Regions from separate parts of the Homo sapiens genome. Here regions 1, 3, 4, 5, 6 and 7 are each linked to region 2. The links are contacts of gene promoters, found by promoter capture Hi-C in blood cells and fetal thymus (Javierre and others, 2016). All regions are on one chromosome and are shown on one strand. Each heading gives the region's core, a stretch centred on a gene start or on the middle of the fragment in contact. The rest is flanking DNA. Distances are from core to core; before and after follow the strand shown. Region 1 overlaps R3HDM1 (R3H domain containing 1). Region 2 holds the start of RAB3GAP1 (RAB3 GTPase activating protein catalytic subunit 1). Region 3 holds the start of MIR128-1 (microRNA 128-1). Region 4 has its middle 15 kb from the start of UBXN4. Region 5 overlaps R3HDM1 (R3H domain containing 1). Region 6 overlaps R3HDM1 (R3H domain containing 1). Region 7 overlaps R3HDM1 (R3H domain containing 1).

The links. Contacts are between HindIII fragments. The CHiCAGO score rates a contact against its expected background, and 5 or more counts as called.
Region 1: a fragment that was not itself captured here is called in contact with the fragment with the promoter of RAB3GAP1 in region 2 in 4 of 17 cell types (megakaryocytes, endothelial precursors, erythroblasts and 1 more); the score reaches 6.1 in megakaryocytes.
Region 3: a contact is called between a fragment that was not itself captured here and the fragment with the promoter of RAB3GAP1 in region 2, in 11 of 17 cell types (naive CD8 T cells, total CD4 T cells, erythroblasts and 8 more). The highest score is 9.0, in naive CD8 T cells.
Region 4: a contact is called between a fragment that was not itself captured here and the fragment with the promoter of RAB3GAP1 in region 2, in 9 of 17 cell types (total CD8 T cells, naive CD8 T cells, naive CD4 T cells and 6 more). The highest score is 10.4, in total CD8 T cells.
Region 5: a fragment that was not itself captured here is called in contact with the fragment with the promoter of RAB3GAP1 in region 2 in 9 of 17 cell types (fetal thymus, naive CD4 T cells, activated CD4 T cells and 6 more); the score reaches 11.3 in fetal thymus.
Region 6: a fragment that was not itself captured here is called in contact with the fragment with the promoter of RAB3GAP1 in region 2 in 5 of 17 cell types (M2 macrophages, total CD4 T cells, naive CD8 T cells and 2 more); the score reaches 6.3 in M2 macrophages.
Region 7: a fragment that was not itself captured here is called in contact with the fragment with the promoter of RAB3GAP1 in region 2 in 15 of 17 cell types (total CD4 T cells, naive CD8 T cells, activated CD4 T cells and 12 more); the score reaches 11.7 in total CD4 T cells.

The regions. Positions count from the first base shown.
Region 1 is chr2:135,614,456-135,617,418 of GRCh38, reverse strand. R3HDM1 (R3H domain containing 1) reads right to left here. Exons shown (of 27, transcript NM_001378107.1): 4 at 1,226-1,267; 5 at 662-751. Among named protein-coding and RNA genes, the nearest start is that of MIR128-1, 49 kb to the left of the region's middle. The HindIII fragment of the contact is 842 bases long and covers 1,107-1,948 here.
Region 2 is chr2:135,050,691-135,053,734 of GRCh38, reverse strand. RAB3GAP1 (RAB3 GTPase activating protein catalytic subunit 1) reads right to left here and starts at 1,443. Exons shown (of 24, transcript NM_012233.3): 1 at 1,410-1,443; 2 at 1,250-1,305. The coding sequence starts at 1,427. RefSeq lists an enhancer at 731-870. The HindIII fragment of the contact is 10,130 bases long and covers 1-3,044 here.
Region 3 is chr2:135,664,237-135,667,212 of GRCh38, reverse strand. All of the region lies in intron 19 of R3HDM1 (R3H domain containing 1), which reads right to left. MIR128-1 (microRNA 128-1) reads right to left here and starts at 1,816; the gene lies at 1,735-1,816. It overlaps LOC124907893 (a long non-coding RNA gene), which reads right to left. Exons shown (of 2, transcript XR_007087245.1): 1 at 656-2,976. RefSeq lists an enhancer at 2,399-2,498. The HindIII fragment of the contact is 348 bases long and covers 1,128-1,475 here.
Region 4 is chr2:135,725,661-135,728,570 of GRCh38, reverse strand. No RefSeq gene overlaps it. Among named protein-coding and RNA genes, the nearest start is that of UBXN4, 15 kb to the left of the region's middle. The HindIII fragment of the contact is 6,612 bases long and covers 1-2,910 here.
Region 5 is chr2:135,592,149-135,595,523 of GRCh38, reverse strand. The region is part of intron 1 of R3HDM1 (R3H domain containing 1); the gene reads right to left. Among named protein-coding and RNA genes, the nearest start is that of R3HDM1, 62 kb to the right of the region's middle. The HindIII fragment of the contact is 3,984 bases long and covers 1-3,375 here.
Region 6 is chr2:135,684,374-135,687,535 of GRCh38, reverse strand. The region is part of intron 21 of R3HDM1 (R3H domain containing 1); the gene reads right to left. Among named protein-coding and RNA genes, the nearest start is that of MIR128-1, 21 kb to the right of the region's middle. The HindIII fragment of the contact is 3,400 bases long and covers 1-3,162 here.
Region 7 is chr2:135,704,120-135,707,421 of GRCh38, reverse strand. The region is part of intron 21 of R3HDM1 (R3H domain containing 1); the gene reads right to left. Among named protein-coding and RNA genes, the nearest start is that of UBXN4, 36 kb to the left of the region's middle. The HindIII fragment of the contact is 4,045 bases long and covers 1-3,302 here.

The DNA.
Region 1 (2,963 bases), core at 278-2,777, 560 kb before region 2:
GAAATTTCTAAAAGGTAAAACTAAAAGGGCAAATTTCACCACAATTATATTCACTGGAAATGCTACCTTAATATATATATATATTTTTTTTTGAGATGGAGTCTCGCTCTGTCGCCCAGGTTGGAGTGCAGTGGTGCGATCTGGGCTCACTGCAAGCTCCGCCTCCTGGGTTCACACCATTTTCCTGCCTCAGCCTCCCGAGTAGCTGGGACTACAGGCGCCCACCACCATGCCCGGCTAATTTTTTTGTATTTTTTTTAGTAGAGATGGGGTTTCACCGTGTTAGCCAGGATGGTCTCGATCTCCTGACCTCGTGATGTGCCCACCTCGGCTTCCCAAAGTGCTGGGATTACAGGCGTGAGCCACTGCACCCGACCAACATTTTTTAACTTTATAAAAATTAATTTATAACTTTCTTAAAGCCACATTCCTAATTAATTACATGATTCCTAAGTTCTTCCAGAAGAGTAATAATTGCTCTAAGCCTTAGATTGAAGCAAAGAGGTTTTCTAACTTTTCATATATCTCTTGGGTGCCAAGTATTATTGAATAAGTTTCATTTAGTCAAAATAAAACAAATATAACAAACACAACTTAAATCATATACAAAAATTCTCCAGTTCCACCATGTCTTGAAATAACATTTGTTTTGCTTTTTTACCTGGTTCTCCTGTGATATCTCTGGTGCAGGGGGTGGTGGAGATTCTTCACACACTGCAAGGCTCCGAACTAGCTTTAACTTTGAGCTTGACTAAAGAGAAGTATTTATAATTAACACTACATTTCAGAAATCTAGGGCATATCCAAAAGCCCCCTAGAAAGAGTTTCTAAGTTTCTTTATAGTTTCTGCCATGTATAACAGTAGATGAAATGTGCAAGTTAAATATATCATTAAACACTACTGAAGGCCTTTGTTAAGAAGGAACACAAACATTTGCAGTTTTGAAAATTATAGCAATAGAAAGAATGGGAATAATTCCAACTTCATATCCCCAAAAATGGTGAGAAAGCGATTTTCTCTACAGATAAAGAACCATCAAGATAAAAAAAGCAATGCACAAAAGCGACTAGGCAAGACAAAAATCCCAAATAAAACAAAATAAGCTTTCTGCCCCCCATAAAATATGGAAGAACTAAACTGAATGTAGTGCTATATGAAAACAAGGATTCATCAAGCATGAAGGAAGGCCCTTGGCATGCCAGCACACCAAAATATTTACTATACCTTAGACCTTTTTCCTGTCTGTCCAAATGACTGCAATGGCCGCTGAATATACAAGAAAGATTTGTATTAAATTTCATACTGAAACAGAAAATTTGCTTCTTAATTCATAGTCCTAAACCACAGAAAAACTAACTGTGCATAAAGTATGAAAAGTGAGGAAATCAAAGTTGGTTTCAGTAAAGGAGTACTGATTCCTCCCAGAAGCACACTTGCAGAAGTTTCTTTAAAATCCTGATAGGTTGGCATTTTTATTATTTTTCTTTCTTAGGCATTTTTCTTTAAATCAGCAAATGGCCACAATTTCTGTGTTAATTGAGTACAATGGAACTTATATGGTGACTTCTTGGTAGTGAAATAAAATATACTTCATTATTTTACAACATATTATAGTTTAGCCAAGGTTAAGGAAAAAGAACACACACAAAAACCAGCAGTTAAAGGTGGATAAACTCAGAAAAGTTCCAAACTTAATGTTTCAAATGCACAGTAAGTCAGAGTCCAACCACAAATCTACTGAGGTGTTTCAACACTGTATAAAGTACACCACCAGTTTATTAGTGATAGAAACCTATTCATCAGGTCTGAGGTGAGGCAATGAAGCAGAAAGGAAGAAAAAAGGGCAGACTTCCAATACGGATGTCCAGCATGACTGACAGGCCGACCATCAGTCACATGATTGGAGAATGCGGTAAGGCAAACTAACTCAAGTTTGTGATACAAGCTTTGGTTTGGGAAACCAGCTGAAGCACCTGTGAACCAGAGCCAGATAGGTTTTAAACACTCCTTTCTTCCAATTTTCCTCCCCAAACCCAACACCAAATAGTACACGGCAAAAGTATCTATCATTTTTACTTCTTAACATGAGGGAGCCAGTCTGGTAACAAACATAAAACAGATACAAAATCCTTAATATCCAGACTAGTATGCTTTACATTAAAAAAAAAAACCCATCATTTTATTTCAAAAAGGCCTTCCTTGTAGAGTCAACAGAAACAAGAGTCTACAGTACCAGTATGTCCTGCTCCCATTTTGAGCCAAAAGTTCTTCAAAATTAAAAAGCACTGTATTCTTGGGATTTTAACCCTAGATTATACAAACTACAGAACAACAAAAGGAAAATAGAAAAAATAAAAGAAAAATGACTTTGTTTCTTATACAGAAGAAAATAGCATGTGTGCGCACACATGAATATGGCAGTGCCACCTAAGAGGTCTTCTGCATGTTGGTATTGTCTTCTGTTTTTACCTACTCTCTAACTTGTTCAAGAGGATTTCTAATTAACTGTAACTCACATCTAACAATAAAAGTAAAATAAATTGTACTACCATCTAGTCTAGGTGGTAGATGCCACCATCTAGGGATTACAGGAAAAAAAAAAGAGAGAGAAAAGCAACAGGTGAATACTATGAAAATGCACATACCTAAATGAGTTCTGAAGAAGCAGAAGGGAAAATAATTTGTGACTTACTCCCAGTCCTCTGCTTTAATCTCTTGTAATTTTAAGTATCACTGGTATAAAATCTTCTATTAAAAATTCTAAAAGGAAAGGGGTCATTAACTGTCAATGTAAATCCTGTATTCATATGCAGAAAAGCTGGACTTAAATTTTTGAATTTGCTTCTTATTAGTGGGTAACCATGGTCAAATTACTTCAGTTTACTTTTATCTGTCTAAAAGTTCATACTACTTGCACTAATTCACAGGATTCTTGAAAGGATTCAGTGAAAGCGTAGCTAAC
Region 2 (3,044 bases), core at 194-2,693:
TTTTCCCTTTGTATATAGCTCTGGACACCCAGTACCTACTCAATGAAGTCTTGCCAGTGTGGTTATGTCTTACTGACACTTTTATGAAGGGTACCACAGGTCTAACTATTATTCCAACAAGGACCTTTTATATTTTCCTGTGCCACCTAATGACACGACATCCACAAATTTCCTCTCCCAACCAGAAAGATTATAAAATGCTGTAACAGCGTAAACACTGACTTCAACACCCAGGAAACTGAAGGGTTTCTGTGACACTTAACAGAAACCTTCTCGATCTAAGCTATCACTCCTCCACAAACTTGGCTTTCAACTAATTTCAGTAATAGAACAGTTTCACCCAGACAGCTGTTCATCTGAATTTGACAGGCACAGGAAGCCTGGGCACAGTACCCACTTTAATGTAACAACTTAAATCAAAGCATTCCAAAACCATATGCAGACTTTTTAAAAAGGTTATTCTAAAAGACAGGATGGGCGGAGGCTCACGCCTGTAATCTCAGCACTTTGGGCGGCCCAGGCTTGAGCCCAGGAGTTCAAGACTAGCCTGGGCAACACAGCGAGATCTTTAAAAAATTAGTTGGGCGTAATAGCGCGTGCCTGTGGTCCCAGCTCCTCCCGAGGCTAAAGCGGGAGCTTCACTTGAGCCTAGGAGTTCGAGGCCGCAGTAAGCTATGACCTCGCCACTGCACTCCGGCCTGGGCGGACAGACTGAGACTCTGTCTCCAAAAATAAATAAAAATAAAAAATTAAAGACAGCATGGAGATGGTGGGAGTGTGACAGATGGACAACTACCAATACTCTGAAGAAAGACTTCCTCCTGAAAAGGGTATACCAACGTACACGGGATGAGGTGCGGCACAACCTACCAAGTTTACTGCTTACGATAATGAGTTAAACGGTAATGAAAACCGGAACGGTTGTTGCAGCCTCGGAAATTTTTCTTGCGAGTGGGTAACAACCAGAAAACCAAAGTCTAAGGGAAGCGGTCTGACAGGAGAGAAAACAAAACTTTCTGAGAGCCTGAGCCTCAGGGATTGGCTGACGGGGGCGGGCCGGGTGTTGCCAGACGCGAGACGCGGAAGAGGCTTGCGGTTGACCAAAGAAGACTGGGGGAGGAGACCCGGGACCCACGGTATTACCGTTCCCGCACAAGTGGCGTCACTTGTGGTGTGTCTGGGGTCAGGGAAGCGGCTAGGGGACGCCAGGGCCCATGGGAGCTGGTAACCAAAAATGCGATTCACTCACCTTTCCCATTCCGAGGCAGTGGTGAAGTCCGTGATCTCAAATACCTCGGATTCGGGCTGCGGGAAGGGGAAGGAGAGAAAAAGAAATTAAGCCCCAAGGCGAAGACATGAGGAACGAATTTAGATAGTGACAAGGATTAAGTAGGGAGCAAAGAAATCACCTCACTGTCGGCAGCCATCTTGAGGAGCGCCGGGCCTGGCGCTAAGGCTGCCGGGAAGAAGAGCGAAAGAGAACGGGGCGCGTCCCCGCCCCCGGAGCCCCCGCCCCCTGTTCATGAGTCTTGCCCTAGTAAGTAGGAGTGCTGCTTCTTCGCCCAGGTCTGTTAAGTCTTTAGTCCGCCCTCAGCTGGTTAATAAAACTCCGCTCTAGCTGGTTTCATAAAACTTGAAAATTTCCTGTGATGAATACAGAAAGGGAACAGAAGCCAAGGTGATAGGACAAGACCCTAAACTCATGTGGATAAGATTGTATTAAAAAACCTAAAGCATGTTGGGTTTGTTTTCATTCAACCCATATTTGTAGTTAGTACCAATTAGCTTACACTTTAACTATTGGGTTTCTTTTCATTCACCCTCTATTTATTGATTGTAAGGCAATAAACTAGGTGCTGTAATACCACTTCTACCCTCTGCCCCTGACCCTGCAAGAAGTTGCTCAGTTGATTGTCCTGAAATAAAATCATACTAGTTACCTGGTTTCTGGGAAGAGCAACATGGTGTTCAACAAACGCTTCATTTTTTTTTTTTTTTTTTTTTTTTTTTTTTTTTTTTTGAGACGGAGTCTTGCTCTGTCGCCCAGGCTGGAGTGCAGTGGCACGATCTTGGCTCACTGCAAGCTCCGCCTCCCGGGTTCACGCCATTCTCCTGCCTCAGCCTCCCGAGTAGCCGGGACCACAGGCGCTCGCCACCACGCCCGGCTAATTTTTTGTATTTTTAGTAGAGATGAGGTTTCATCGTGTTAGCCAGGATGGTCTCGATCTCCTGACCTCATGATCTGCCCACCTCGGTTCTGTCGCCAGGCTGGAGTGCAGTGGCGCGATTTCGGCTCACTGCAATCTCTGCCTCCTGGGTTCAAGTGATTCTCATGCCTCAGCCTCCCGAGTAGCTGGGATTACAGGCATGCGCCACAACACCCAGCTAATTTTTGTATTTTTGGTAGAGATGGGGTTTCACCATGTTGGCCAGGATGGTCCCGATCTCCTGACCTTGTGATCCGCCCCCCTCGGCCTCCCAAAGTGCTGGGATTACAGGTGTGAGCCACTGTGCCTGGCCTTGTCTTTATTTTAACACCTTCAAGTTATTTATATATATTCTGCATCTGAGCTTTATATTGTTTATATATGTAGCAAATACCTTCTCCCACTCTGCAGCTTGCTTTTTCACTATTTTTTTTTCAGACTGGTGCTCTAAAAAAGCAGACACTACAATTCCAAGCTGGCGAAGTCTCTGAAGTCCAACTGGAAGTGCTAGGGCAAAAATTATGCATCAGGAAATGCGTAGCCCCTTGTACTACTGCCTTGCTCCGTCAATCATTGGCCAGGATCTCCCCAAGAAAACAGTGGCCTTGGCTATCACTGTTTGCTCAGTTTTTGGCTGGAGGAAGCACTCCAAGAATAGCAGGTCCTTGGCTCAACAGTTAGACAAACCTGATAAACCCAACAGCCGTAGGCTGTTCATCTAACCACACGCCTTACAGCTGGGCAGTGAGTCTTTCTTTAAGGGAGGTCTGAGCAGCACATCTTTTGTGTCTGCCACTCTCTTTTAATAGACAGCCTCTTTTAACATGCACCTACAAT
Region 3 (2,976 bases), core at 52-2,551, 610 kb before region 2:
TAACCAAGAAGAGAGCAGGAAGGAAATGCAGTGCTCAGCACAAAAGTATTGAACAGGCATTAACAGGCTGATTTTATTTTATATAGGTGATCTGAACTAGCATTTGTTCTAAAGGAAAGCATTCTTAATAACACAGAAATAATCAGAAAAATTACAAAAAGTATTAAAGAAATGCTTAGAATACCCATGAATCTAAGGTTATTTCACTTAATAGTACCTATTAATTTTTTTTCCAGACTGTGCTTGTACAATAGAAGCACTGTGAAGGTAGTTTTCTTTTTTTTTTTTTTTAAAGATGAGCCATTTTACTAAAGCCAAATTTATTTGTAACTAGGCATCTACAAGACCAAATTGTTAAAACCTCAAGCTTATAATCTTGGGCTTCTGTCTGTGGCACTATTTTAGTAGGTGGGCAAGTTCAACTAAAGCCAGCCCCATGGGTGTATTTGGAAGGAGATGCAATTGCCATCACACTTGATTATCCCTTCTCATCTCTCATCCCCTCTTCTCTCACTCCTGTGCCTGAAATAAACATATACATATACAAAAACCAATTCTAACAAAAACAGTCACACAGAGTTTATTGCTCACAGCTATTTAAAGAACTATTCCATGGAAGAGTCTATACAACTCAAGGAAATCTGTGGGTACTTACCAGATATATTTGGCTCCAGATTTCAGTGGCGGCAGGTTAATGGAGAAGGGAAAAGGGAAATAGGTGGATTTGTAGGTATTATACAATGTCTGAATCTATGCTGAATCACACAATACATACTAAGAAATGCTCACAGAAATCAATGAAAAAACAAGAATAGCCAGAGCCACTACCTAGTAATTTACAAATACAAAATTCCTATTACTTGGATTGAAAGTTGTCAGTAAAGAAATTGACTTTGTGCCTTGAGTCCCTATTTGACATAGCCGACTCTCCTATCAATAAGCCCCCTCACCTGCTTACCCAGTAGTGCTGACTTTTCTTTGCTCGCCTTTTACACCCTAGTTACTCTTAAATTTGTGCCTTCAAATTCTGTCAACAATATGCACACATTGAAGACTGTTTATCCTAACAAGTTTCTTCCATAGTGTCGTTCATCAGGATCCTACCATAGTCTGCTGGTAACAAAGCTTAATCAACTTGGAACCATATGATTCTGGGTTATCTGGAAAGCTAAGACTAAAGATATAATACATTGATAATCTTTGAAGTTATCAAATGGTTGCAAAACTAAAAGTATAGTTTCACAGAATCATTTTGCTTTCCACAGGTATGCAACAACATCATCGTTTGGAAAAAAAAATTAAATTATATCGTTGGTAAGAACCGAGACCAAGTAGCTTCAAATGCATTTAGGTGTATTAGGTCCGTTTGATGTCATGCTTTCATATATAACAATATCCCTAAAAAGTTGTGTAGCAATAGGGAGAGACATATTTGACTTCTGCTAATGAGTTTGGTATGCTTAAAACATTAAGCTTTTTAGATAAGCTCAAAACCAAACTGAATTTGTCATCCAAATCTACTTTGGAAAAGAAATAAGCAATAGCTTTCACAAATTTTTAACAGGTAAATTATATTAGGCCAAAGATGTCACTTAAATTCTAATCCCTATTTCTGAGTATGATGCATGATTTAAAGGTATTACAATTAATGAAAAATATAAACAAATGTTAACACCTTCATACAGCATTAAAAAAAGCAAAAAAGCAGTGGAAACCTGAGTAAAAAGAAGCCAGGAAGCAGCTGAAAAAGAGACCGGTTCACTGTGAGAAATGTAAACCTCTCAGACAGTGCTACGGCCCCGAATCCAACAGCTCAGGAACAAGGCCAATTATTGCAAAATATTAAATGTATATGGTGAAGCTACAAACTTGTCAAGAGTCATAAGAATAATAAAAGCTACACAGAAAACAGCTAGGGCTTTGTAAACCTAAAATCTTCACTATAATTACTACCTGCAGAAAGTTTCTTTATACTATACCACACTCCTTATATGCAGTGTACTTCACAGTATTCAAAGCATACATTTTATGATAAAGGTTTAAAGTAATAAATCTTTATTAGTGAAACTGGTAAGTAATCTGATCTTTTGAAATAGTTGCTTTCATTGACTCCAGTTATTGACAGTTGGTTGCCAAGCTGTTACAAACCAATTCTCTATTATTCTACCTTTTAGAACTAGAAATGACTCACATGAGACACAAAGAATTATGGAGTTTTACAGTACACAGAGGCTTCAACAGACAACACAGTAAAAATTCCATACTTTGCAAATGAGTCCAACTGAAACTCAGTGGCTTTAAGTGATATGCCTAACACCAGTTACAAATGACTAAGGGCCATCAGGATTCTGACTTTTATTTTGTTGTTCTTTCCCATTATACAGTGCATTGTTCAGAAAGTCTTATGTGTGTAGCCAGGGTTTCTTCTGTTTCTGTTGACAGGGGTTTACTCAACCTTGTTTTGAATGAACAGTTCAGTAGTTTCACATTCATAACAAAAGACTAGTACATTCATTTCCCCAGCAGTAATGTTAGTCCTGATTTCAGTTGTGGTCCACTGGGACACATGGATAAAAGACCTAGAGCATTTTATCCTTGAGATATTTCCCCATCCTCCTCCCTATCCACCAAAGGAAAAATAATGAAAGATCCTGTATTTCTACTGCCCATACCCTATCTGGTCTAAAAATACTTTGCTCAGTTGGGCTTGTTAATTTAGGGCAAAATTTCTTTAAGTTCAAATACAAACTTTTAAACATTACTTGTGCCACAGTGAAAAAAAATTGCTCCAAGTCTACTAGTGTTTTCATTATTTGGTTGAATAATTAGTTTCACCCTTTTATGTAATTAAAAAAAAACATGCTTCTTGACACTGTGGGGTAAGCAAGTGTTGTTTGACAAGAAATACAAATATAAGAGATATGAAAAAGTATTTCTCATTTTTAATCAGATTGGGATAGTAGAATGTAGAGAGGT
Region 4 (2,910 bases), core at 16-2,515, 680 kb before region 2:
TGTGGATGTGGGGGTGGATTCAAGGGCAGCTGTATCTGTTTTTCAAGCCGGTGAAGGTCATGGGCTGAATGTGTGTGCAAGAGACTCAGGTTCTTTTAGCACCAGCTGTTAAAGGTCTTCTAGAATCCCAAGCAACCAGGGGCCAGCTTTGAATCCCACCAGCATGTATATAATGCCTTTGTGCTAGCACTTCACTGGGCCCTAGAAGACGGAACTCATGCCCTTAGCCTTTGGAGACTATAGATAACATATTATCTGTTGGGCAGGCAGTGGTCTGGGATTAGGGGGTCTTGCCTCTGCTGAAGTCTTAAGTTTGCATGTTTTCTGTTGTTGGTAACAGGTAGAGAATCCAACTCAGCTGTTTCCTGAGGTAGCTGCAGATATGCTGACTTTACTCTGCCCAAGCTAATCTGGAACTGTGGGTTCTACTCAGAGGCCTGTGTTGCCACACTATTCACAGGCCATAAGGCCCTACCTAGTGGGGTCAGGAAAACATTTTCCTAGCTTGGGAAAGGCTCACATCCCTATTTTGTTGCCAGCTCTGATGCCAACCTAATAATTTTTAATTACCTGTGGCACCATGGCAAACACACCTTGTACTCTAGATCACAAACACGTACCCAATATATCCATGTTCTTTGCAAACCAAGAGCTTCAAACCATAAGTCATTCTCAGTTTTCTAATATTAAGTAGCATAAACAGACAGAATGTTATGGACTGACCTCTATCATTCCCAAAGAAAGGACTGCTGGAGCTGCTAATATTGGCACAAGAAAGAATAACACTTTATTGGTAAAAGTAGTATCTGGCCGGGCGGGGTGGCTCACACCTGTAATCCTAGCACTTTGGGAGGCCGAGGCGGGCGGATCACAAGGTCAGGAGATCGAGACCATCCTGGCTAACACGATGAAACCCCATCTCTACTAAAAATACAAAAAATTAGCCAGGCATGGTGGCGGGCGCCTGTAATCCCAGCTACTCGGGAGGCTGAGGCAGGAGAATGGCGTGAACCTGGGAGGTGGAGCTTGCGGGGAGCAGAGATCGCGCCACTGCACTCCAGCCTGGGCGACAGAGCAAGACTCCATCTCAAAAAAAAAAAAAAAAAAAAAAAAAAAAAAAAAAAAAAAGCAATATCTACCCCTAAAAATGGTCAGGGGTCTGGAAAAACCCATGATAAGGATTATTGCCAGGGCTATGGGACATCGAAAGCTGTCTTTGAGATTACCAGTCTAGACCAAATCACATCTTAAATGCCTCCTGTGTGTGCTTCTACCTCCCACCATTTTTATACAGGGGAAATCAGACTTTAGATTAAAAAAAAAAGGGGGGAATGTAGATTAGGGAACGTGTGCATATTTTTGTAATGGTGGTGGGATTGGCCAATTTCATTGTTATTTCCATGTGATTGTCAGGGAATGTGGTGGTGGTGGCTAGGAGTTAACTCTACAATAGCCTCTGATCTTTTTTTAGCTCTAGTGTCTTACCTATTTACTTTGCACAGTATTCAATTCCTACAAGGTAAACTAAGAGTTTAAAGCAAAAACTGGTTTACCAGAATTCCTACTGCAGGAGTTAAAGATAATTTTTTTTTTTTTGAGACGGAGTTTCGCTCTTCCGCCCAGGCTAGAGTGAAGTGGCGCAACCTCGGCTCACTGCAACCTCTGCCCCCCAGGTTCAAGTGATTCTTCTGCCTCAGCCTCCCAAGTAGCTGGGATTATATAGGCACCCCACCACCACACCCGGCTAATTTTTGTGTTTTTAGTAGAGATGGGGTTTTGCCATGTTGGCAAGGCTGGTCTCGAACTCCTGACCTCAAATGATCCGTCCGCCTCGGCCTCCCAGTGCTGGGATTATAGGCATGAGCCACCGTGCCTGGTCTAAAGGGAATATTCAAGAGAAACTAATTGCAGGCCAGGTGTAGTGGCTCATGCCTGTAATTCCAGCACTTTGGGAGGCCGAGGCGGGTGGATCACCTCAGGTCAGGAGTTCGAGATCAGCCTGGCCAATATGGCGAAACCCTGTTTCTGCTAAAAATACAAAAATTAGTGGGGCATGGTGGCAGGTGCCTGTAATCCCAGCTACTCGAGAGGCTGAGGAAGAATTGCTTGAGCCCAGGAGTCTAAGGTTGCAGTGAACTGAGATCGTGCCACTGCACTCTAGCCTGGTTGATACAGTGACTCTGGTCTCAAAAGAAAAAAAAAAAATAATTGCCAGAAACCATGAGGTTGTGACTTTTTTTTTTTTTTGAGACCGAGTCTTGCTCTGTCACCAGGCTGGAGTGCAGTGGCACGATCTTGGCTCACTGCAACCTCTGCCTCCTGGGTTCAAGCAAATCCCCCGCCTCAGCCTCCCAAGTAGCTGCGATTACAGGTGCGCACCACCATGTCCAGCTAATTTTTTTGTATTTTAGTAGAGACAATGTTTCACCATGTTGGCCAGGATGGGAGGTTGTGACTTTTTTGGTCTCCATCCCCATGTATGATTGAAGAATTGTTGCTGAAATGCTAGCCTTACTTACGTGTCCTCTCCATCTTTGACTCTCTGCATGTCAAAAATAATTAAAATTCAACAAGCCTTGGAAGCAAGAGATTTTCACAGACCTCACACTCTTACTCTTTTCCCTGGCTATGGCTCCTTAATCTAAAATGGTTCTAAGACAGCTTCAACTTTTGATCCCAGGAGTACAATATTCACAATTGGGATGTGCTAGTTGGTGGGGAGGCATGGCATTCTCTGGGACCAGTGGGACCTTGCAAATGTGCTAAAGTGAGTGCACATCTGCACCAGAGTCTGGTAACACCTAGTGCTCTTCAATTTCATAGTAGAAGCCCTAGTCTGGGCTGGAAGATAACCAGACTCCAGGAAAGCTGCAGTTGGCAGACCCCTACCTTTTAGATTTCCCAACGGGG
Region 5 (3,375 bases), core at 306-2,805, 540 kb before region 2:
CATAGTTTGCAGCTGAGGCAGAGGAAGATTAAGCAGCTTTTTCAAAGTAGCAAGACTAGTAAGGGGTAGAGTTAAGATATGAACTCAGGTAGTGTTGGCTCCAGAGCCCTTGGTATCAGCCACTACCTGTACTCCATGTAGAAATGAATAGATTAATATAATAGCAAGTAACTAACTGGGGGAAGCCAATTCAATACATGAGTGGTCAGGGAAAAGGTAAGGGCTGTGAGAGCTGGAAGAGTTATGAGAGGACACACTGAAGGTGCAGGTAGTGCTTGCTACCACTAAATATAGGAAATATATCTGGGAGGAAAATGGATTTGATGGCAGAACGATGATTTCAGTTTTGCCTACAGTTAATTTTAAGGTATCTTCAGGACATTCAGGTGGAGAAATCTAACAGAAAATTGGATATATAGACTTGGAGCTCAGGAAAGAAGTCAGCTAATGTTATTTATTTGGTGGAGAATCACTATATAGATTGAAGTTTTGAGTTATCAATGTTAATGAAGTTGCCCACAAGCCTTCATTGAAAAGGGGGGGGGGTGTAGAATCCCTAGGGAACACTGAACCCTTAAGGATTGAGGAGGAAAGTGGAAGATCACAATGAGTATACATGATTTGGTAATAAAGTTACCAGGAGATGCGAAGTTAGAGGAAGGTTGTCAGAATGAAAAAGTGTGTAGGCCACAGAAGCCAGTAAGGAAAGATGGGGAGAGGCTAGAGGTTTAGGAGGGAAGAAAGGTAATAAGAAGGAAAATCTGAAAGTGGATGAAATGAGAAAATGTAATCAGAAGTACAAACTGGTGAATAAGCCTGAAATGTATACATTATCCTAAGATACTGAAGGGAATGTGGCAGGAAAAGGAGGGAATTCATACCTAATAAATTTCTTCTTTTTTACCCCGAACCTATTTGCTAGAAGAGAGGGAGCCGGGATGGCTGTAGGGCTTGTGGAGAATGGTGACTGAGTCACTAAGGGGTGGTTCATTAAGGCCAACACGAACATTCAGGACTGTTTTGGCACAGTCCTTCTAAGGAGAAGTCTGTAAACTACAAGACTGGGGGTATCTCTAATTCTTTGACTGAGGGCATTGTAATGAGTGAGAGTGATGCAAATGAGAAAGCTCAGATGCTACTTGGCTATATAATAGGCTAAATGTTTTTTTCACAGCCATTTCCAGATCTGACTTTTTATCACTGTATGGTATAGTAGCTTAAGAAACGTAATTTAAAATGCCAAATCAATACATAAAAAGCTGGAAATTAGGAATGCTAGAGTACTAAAAGAACTATACATATATCTTAATGTAGCAGTGATCCTAGTTTAAATGAAAGCAAAAGCTAAAGGAAGTGTTTTCACTGGAGAACCAAAGCAGGGGAGATGTGGGAGACAAGCAGCTCCTGGTGCCCAGGTGACCAAGCCCACCACAGAAGCGGGTGAATGGCTTGCCTAACTTCTCTGAGGATGGCATGGTGCTGGTACATAGAAAATTCTAGAGAAGGCCAGGCGCAGTGGCTCATGCCTGTAATCCCAGGACTTTGGGAGGCTGAGGCGGGCGGATCACCTGAGGTCAGAAGATTGAGACCAGCCTGGCCAACATGGCAAAACCTCATCTCTACTAAAAATACAAAAATTAGCTGGGTGTGGTGGTGCGCGCCTGTAATCCCACTACTTGGGAGGCTGACGCATGAGAATCGCTTGAACCTGGGAGGTGGAGACTGCAGTGAGCCGAGACTGTGCCAGTGTACTCCAGCCTGGGTGATAGAGTCAGACTCCGTCTCAAAAAAATAAATAAAATAATAAAATAAAAAAGAAAATTCTAGAGAATATGGTACCCTGAAGACTAAACATGTTGGGAACACTAAGAGATACAACCTTTGGCATGGACATGAGCTAATTCGTGGCAAACACTAGCAAAATGGTAGTGGGCAGTGGGCCAGAGAAAGACAAAACTGGAAGATCATGAAACGGCTGTTCTTGAGCTCATGAGGAGATCCTGGATAATCCTGGGGATAACCTGGTGAGATTCTAAAGGGGTTTAGATATTGGCAGATATAGGTAAGAGACAATGCAAGAAAGTCAGGGCCATTAATGTAACTCTAAACCTGAAGTTAATGACCTCCTAATATAGTGCTAGTGAGGGTAAAATGTATTTTGCCTTAATTCTGAACCTACCATAGTCCAGGGTTATACTGAGAGCTCCCCATGTATGTGCTAAATGCAGGACTGAAATAAATAACTCAGGGTGTAATATGATCTGATTGGCATGAGGTAAAATCTCTTTTAAAGACTACACACAGGGCTAGGAGTGGTGGCTCGTGCCTGTAATCCCAGCACTTTGGGAGGCTGAGGTGGGTGGATCACTTGAGGTCAGGAGTTCGAGACTAGCCTGGCCAACATGGTGAAACCTCAACTCTACTAAAAATACAAAAATTAGCCAGGTGTGGTAGCAGGCGCCTGTAATCCCAGCTATTTGGAAGGCTGAGGCAGGAGAATCGCTTCAATCCAGGAGGCACAGGTTGCAGTGAGCCGAGATGGCACCACTGCACCCCAGCCTGGGCGAAAAAGTGAGACTCCATCTCAAAAAGAAAAAAAAAAGACTACACGGAGGTAGAGTATGGTGGCACATGCCCGCAGTCCCATCTACCACAAGAAAGGATCCCTTGGGCTCAGGAGTTTGAGGGTGCAGTACACTACGATAGCGCCACTGCATTCCAGTCTGGATGACACAGCAAGACCCTGCCTCTTAAAAAATAAAAATAAAAAAAAATAATAAAAAACTACATGGAGGAAAAAAAAAACCCAAACTGGTATTACCATCTAGTCATGCTTTGAGAAATAAACAGCAAAGAACATTCAAAAGGTTTGGATTCCTGGAAACTGAGCTATGGATAATAAGGATGTGAGAGGAGAGCTTAAGATAACAGGCATGTAAGAGAAAACATAGTTTTTTTTGTTTGTTTCCATACTGGATTGTTTACAATTCATTTTTCAAAAAATCATTCATTCTTTCAAAAGTGATCTGTTTAGAGATGCTTTTAAGGTACAAAATCAGCTAAAGGGAAGTGGTCAGAAGGAGAAAGATCACTCACTCAGTCTTGACCTCGGAGTTATCTCACATATAATTACCATAAAAGTAAATTACTTCCCACATAGGGTACACCAAAGACATTATCAATAATTGGAAAATAAGATATTGTGTAATGGAAAATTTGGCTGACCTTTGTCCTTAGTAGGCAGCTTCTAAATTCTTGGAATTTCTGGACTGATGGAAATGTCTTTGTCATTCATGGTGGGTCCTGATAATGTATGCTAATGAGGTTACTATGATATAGTTTATGTTAAGATGGTGATTCCAGATGGGGACTGGC
Region 6 (3,162 bases), core at 416-2,915, 630 kb before region 2:
ACAATGATCTGGAACAGAGCTCAGAAACAGGTTAAGTGCTAAAGACATGTGAACTATTAAAATGGATGTCACAAATCCTTCAAAGACACCATAACTGTTTTTCTTTTTTTGTTTGTTTTAAACACGAGAGCTACCCTTTTAATAAAATTTCAAGTGTACAACACAATATGACTATAGGCAAAATGTAGTATAGCAGATTTCCAGAGTTCATTCATCTTGCATAAAAGAAATGTTATATCCACTGAAGAGTAACTCTCCACTTCCCCCTCCCTGCAGCCCCTGGCAATGACCATTCTACTCTCTGCTTCTACAAGTTTGACTATTTTATTTTCTGTATTTTTGAGACAGAATTTTGCCCTGTTGCCTAGGCTAGAATGCAGTGGCACTATCTCGGCTCACTGCAACCTCTGCCTCCCAGGTTCAAGTGCTTCTTGTGCCTCAGCCTCCTGAGTAGCTGAGACTACCGGCACCACCATGCCCGGCTAGTTTTTTGTATTTTCAGTAGAGATGAAGTTTCACCATGTTGGCCAGGCTGGTGTACACTCCTGACCTCAGGTGATCCACCTGCCTTGGCCTCCCAAAGTGCTGGGATTACAGGTATGAGCCACTGCGCCCAGCCAAGTTTGACTATTTTAGAGGTCATACTGTGGAATAAGGCAGTATTTGTCCTGTGACTGGCTTATTTTACTCAACATAATGTCCTCAAGGTTCATCAACATTGTTACATATGGCAGGATTTCCATCTTTAAAGGCTAAATAATGTTCCATTACAGTACATATATAACCTTTTTTTCTTTCAGAGAGGGTCTGGCTCTGTCGCCTAAGCTGGAATACAGTGGCGTAATCATGGCTCACTATAGCCTTGACCTCCCAGGTTCAAGTTATCTTCCCACAACTCAGTTTCCTGAGTAGACTAGCTTCACAGGTATTTGTCACTATACCCAGCTACTTTTTAAATTTTTTGTAGAAATGGGGTCTCCCTGTGTTGCTCAGGCTGGTCTCAAACTCCTGGGCTCGAGCCATCCTCATGCCTTGGCCTCAAAAAGTGTTGGGATCACAGGAATGAGCCATACCACATTTTCTTTATCCACTCATCCACCAATTGACATTTAGGTTGTTTCCACATCTTGGCTATTGTGAATAATGCTGCAATGAATATGGAGATGTAAATCTCTCTTCGAGATACTGATTTCAATTCTTCTGCATAAATATCTAGAAGTATTTGGAATTGCTGGATCAAATGATAGTTCTATTTTTATTTTTTTTAGGAACTTCTGTACTGTTTTCTATAGCAGCTACACCATTTTACATTCCCAACAACAGTGTTACAAGGGTTCCCTTTTTTCCACATCCTTATCAATACTTAATAGCTTTTGATTTTTTTGATAACAGCCATTTTAACAGGTGTGAGGTGATATCTCATTACGGTTGTGATTTGCATTCCTCTAATGATTAGTGATATCAAGCATCCTTTCTCTGGCCTGTTTGCCATTTGTATGTCTTCTCTGGATAAATTTCTATTCAACTCTTTAACCCTTTTTTTTTCTGAATTACAGGATTTCCTTAATATTTTGGATATCAGATATACAGCTGGCAAATTTGCAGTTTCCATATACAAAGTTCTAGACATGTAATTCCTTCCACCAGTCCTGGAAGGTATTTCTGTCTTACAAATGAGAAAACAAAAGTACAAATAAATAACTTGTCCAAGGTCACACTGGCTTGAAGACAGGTTTTTATGATTCCAAAGCCCATTTTTCTAACCATATCATGCCACCTAATAACTAATATTTAAAGGCATGAGTTTTAGTTATCTGAAAAATTAGCTTATTGGACCAGCATATTCCCTGGTATCAGATCAGTGGGATTCCATGATGAAGAGTCTCAATGAATATAGCATGTATTTAGAGAAATTTCTCAGATAAATATCTGAGAAAACAGCAGAAGACTAACCAATTAGTCATCAGTTACAAGTACAGTGTGGTGAAATACACAAACAAATACAGGCTGGTGGAAAAAAGTTCGGTATATCAGTTGTAATATTAAATGTGAATGGATTCTCCCATCACATGTCAGACATGATATGCTCCTACAAGAAACCAAAACCAAGTTGTAGACATTTTATATTCAAAACTATTTATAAACTCAATTTGAGTGTGTGTATGTGTGCTATTTTGTTCATGTTGCCGTACCATATCTGTGTTAGTATATGAATAAGCACAAGAAGGAAAGTGAGGAAGGAAGGACAGAAACCAGGAGAGAAACACGGGTTAACTAGCATGTGTGTGTGTGGGAAATGGTCCAGTGGTAGGGTAGGGAGAGAGAAGGTTAGGACAATAAAAAACTGCCAGGATGACATAATATTACTTATATAAAATTATGTTTGTCAAGAAATTAGAAAAACAAAACAGGATGTTTTATACTAGTATTTACTAATCTGATGTTCATGATACATTATTATGAAAAAAATGCAGGCTGGGAGCAGTTGCTCATGCTTGTTACCCTAGCACTTTGGGGGTAGAGGTGAGAGGACTGCTTGAGCCTTGGAGTTCGAGACCAGCTTGGGCAACATAGTGAGACCCCATCTCTACCAAAAATATAAACAATTAGCTGAGTGTGGTGGTGCGTGCCTGTGGTCCCAGCTACTTAGGAGGCTGAAGTGGAAGGATTGCTTGAGCCTGGTAGGAGAAGGTTGCAGTAAGCCATGATCATGCCACTGCCCTCCAGCCTGGGTAACAGAGTGAGACACCTCAAAAACAAAGAATAAAATGGAAAAGAAAAAAAAAACGCAAGAGAATGTGTATTTCACTAAAACTCACCACCCAATTCCTCATATGAGTATTTATGCGTGTATTGTTTGTGTAGCCAGGAGGCCAATGTGACAGAACACACCCTAGCCTGTGAATGCTGGTTACCTGGGGATGGGGGGTGGAGCAGGGCATGATGATTACCTTTCCCTTTACACATCTCTGTATTGCTTCACTTATATTAACAGCATTATTTGTTTTGTAATTTTAAAAATTGATGAAAAATTTAAAAAGCATAGAGAGGTTATAGAAACAAAATAAAATTGAGTCCAACAGTTAATGATGTCTATGTACATATACACATGTGCAAGCTGGCCTTTGACATTTAAGAAATATGTTCGGCTGGGAGCGGTGG
Region 7 (3,302 bases), core at 257-2,756, 650 kb before region 2:
AGGCCTCTACTTATCTTCTGAGAGACGTATAGATAATTCAAGGGACATAGACTAGGCAATGAGACACCCTCTTAAATCACTTAAACACTTTAGAAAAAAGAAAGCACAGAAGTCAGTATTTACACTCTCTCTTTAAAAATACAAATATATTATACCAGAGATGAATCAGTTCTATAGTAATTTCACAAGTTTCTCCTCCTTTGGAAGACAGGAGGGAAAGAAGGACTTTTAAAGTAAAGCACCAGGCCTAGTCATTCAAAGTTGATATCCTACCCTTTAACAGAAAAATGAAACATCAATCTCAAATAATCCCATTTATCCCCAAACTTCCTGAAAAGTCCTGACATAAAACTATGAATGGGCCAGCCCCCCGCCCAGCCAGCCGCCCCGTCCAGGAGGGAGGTGGGGGGGTCAGCCCCCCGCCCGGCCAGCCGCCCCGTCCGGGAGGTGAGGGGCGCCTCTGCCCGGCCGCCCCTACTGGGAAGTGAGGAGCCCCTCTGCCCGGCCACCACCCCGTCTGGGAGGTGTACCCAACAGCTCATTGAGAACGGGCCATGATGACAATGGCGGTTTTGTGGAATAGAAAAGGGGGAAAGGTGGGGAATAGATTGAGAAATCGGATGGTTGCTGTGTCTGTGTAGAAAGAGGTAGACATGGGAGACTTTTCATTTTGTTCTATACTAAGAAAAATTCTTCTGCCTTGGGATCCTGTTGATCTATGACCTTACCCCCAACCCTGTGCTCTCTGAAACATGTGCTGTGTCCACTCAGGGTTAAATGGATTAAGGGCGGTGCAAGATGTGCTTTGCTAAACAGATGCTTGAAGGCAGCAGGCTCGTTAAGAGTCATCACCACTCCCTAATCTCAAGTACCCAGGGACACAAACACTGCGTAAGGCCGCAGGGTCCTCTGCCTAGGAAAACCAGAGACCTTTGTTCACTTGTTTATCTGCTGACCTTCCCTCCACTACTGTCCTATGACCCTGCCAAATCCCCCTCTGCGAGAAACACCCAAGAATGTTCAAAAAAAACAAAAACAAAAACAAAAACAAAAACAAAACTATGGATATGTAAACTAAAAAAAAAAATCAAAATATCCACTTTCAACTGTATTAAGGCCACTGCAATAAAAATTATTACCAATATTTTTTTCCTGTTTAGGAGCTGCCTCTTCTCTACGTAAGGTAGAGCCAGACAAACTGCTGTGAAATGCTTCTACAAGATCACTGGAGATTGATGAAAGACATTATAGGATATCCCACAGGTTTCTTCTGAGTTTTTTTTTTTTTTTTTCGAGATGGAGTCTCCCTTTGTCACCCAGGCTGGAGTGCAGTGGCGCAATCTTGGCTCACTGCAAGCTCCGCCTCCCGGGTTCATACCATTCTCCTGCCTCAGCCTCTCGAGTAGCTGGGACTACAGGTGCCCGCCACCACGCCCGGCTAATTTTTTGTATTTTTAGTAGAGACGGGGTTTCACCATGTTAGCCAGGATGGTCTCGATCTCCTGACCTCGTGATCCGCCAGCCTTGGCCTCCCAAAGTGCTGGGATTGCAGGCGTGAGCCACTGTGCCCGGTCCTTCTTCTGAGTTTTTTTACAGTGCTCATCTTATTCCTTTAACATTATAGGGTAATTCAGAGAAATTCCCCTTCTCTCCAGTTAATTAGTTATTCATTCTTACCATGTTTTGGAATTGAAGCCATGATAAAAAAAATGACAAATATAATGTATTTTTAAAGTTAGAAACTTACTTTATCAAAGTGTGATTTTATTTATTTATTTATTTTAAACAGACAAGGTCTCACTCTATTCCTCAGGCTGGAATGCAGTGGTGTTATCATAGGTTACTGAAGCACTGAACACTTGGGCTCAAGTGATCCTCCTGCCTCAGCCTCCCGAGTAGCTAACTACAAGCGCCCACCACTGCTTAATATCAAGCAATATCAATGCTTGATATTAAGATATATTCACTAGATCTTGCAAATTCAAGTGACAGTACATTGCTATTTTAATGCCTTTGACATTTAATACCTGACCTAGGGCAAAGCACCATGTATTTGGGTGTCAGAAGGGAGCACAGGGCTGTGTTCCAACTCTACTTGTTATTCGTTATATGAGTCTGAACATGTTATTTGAACTTCAGCTCTTTCATCAACAAACATGCCATTAGCACTTAAACATGCAATTAGCACTTGCCTTACCAAACTATGATGAAAGATTTGGCCAAATAATTCAAAGTGTAAACAGCCAAACATAAAAATGTACAACTTCATTAATAATCACAGAGCCAAATTAATACATGTTGCCATTTATGAAATGTGAAAACAGTAAAGCGGAGTCAGTACATATTGGGACTGTGAATCAAAGATTTTGGCAAAATGTACCATGGACCTTAATAACAGTCACATCCTTTAACCTACTAATTCCCTTCTAAGGACTCATGCCAAGGGAGTAATTAAAATTGCTTACAAGATGGTTCAATAAAGTAAAAAGATACGACCTAAATGTTCTGCAATAGGGTAAATATATTATTGTATATTCATAAAATGTAAGAGTATGATCATTAAATTATATTAATGAATTTTTAATAGGATGAAAAAATTTTTACTATGACCAATAAGTGAAATATATACAGTAAGATTTCAGCTACATTAAAACTCTGTAAGAGGCTGGGTGTGGTGGCTCATGCCTGTAATCCTAGCATCTGGGGAGGCCGGGGAGGACGGCTCACTTGAGGTCAGGAGTTTGAGACTAGCCTGAAACCCTATCTCTGCTAAAAATACAAAAACTAGCTGGGTGTGGTGGTGCATGACTGTAATCCCAGCTACTTGGGAGGCTGAGGCAGAAGAATCACTTGAACCCGGGAGGCAGAGGTTGCAGTGAGCCGAGATGGCACCACTGCAGTCTGGCCTGGGCGAAAGAGACTCTGTCTCAAAAAAAAAAAAAAAGCATGCATGCATTTTGTAATTATAAACAATACTTTAAAATGCTTTTTGAAAACTGAAAAGTTTAGCTTTTAAATGTTATAGTAGAAAGTTAATTTCAATGAAACAATTTGAATCTGCTTCAGAAAACTTCAGCAGATGTCAGAGTATGGCCATTTGAAGATGTTTATGCTGATATTCTGCAATATAAACCTTCAGTTCAGCCGGGTGTGGCGGCTCATGCCTGTAATCCCAGCACTCTGGGAGGCTGAGGCAGGCGGATCACTTGAGGTCAAGAGTTCGAGACCAGCCTGGTCAGCATGGTGAAACCCATTTCTACTAAAAATACAAAAATTAGCTGGGCGTGGTGGTGGGTGCCTGT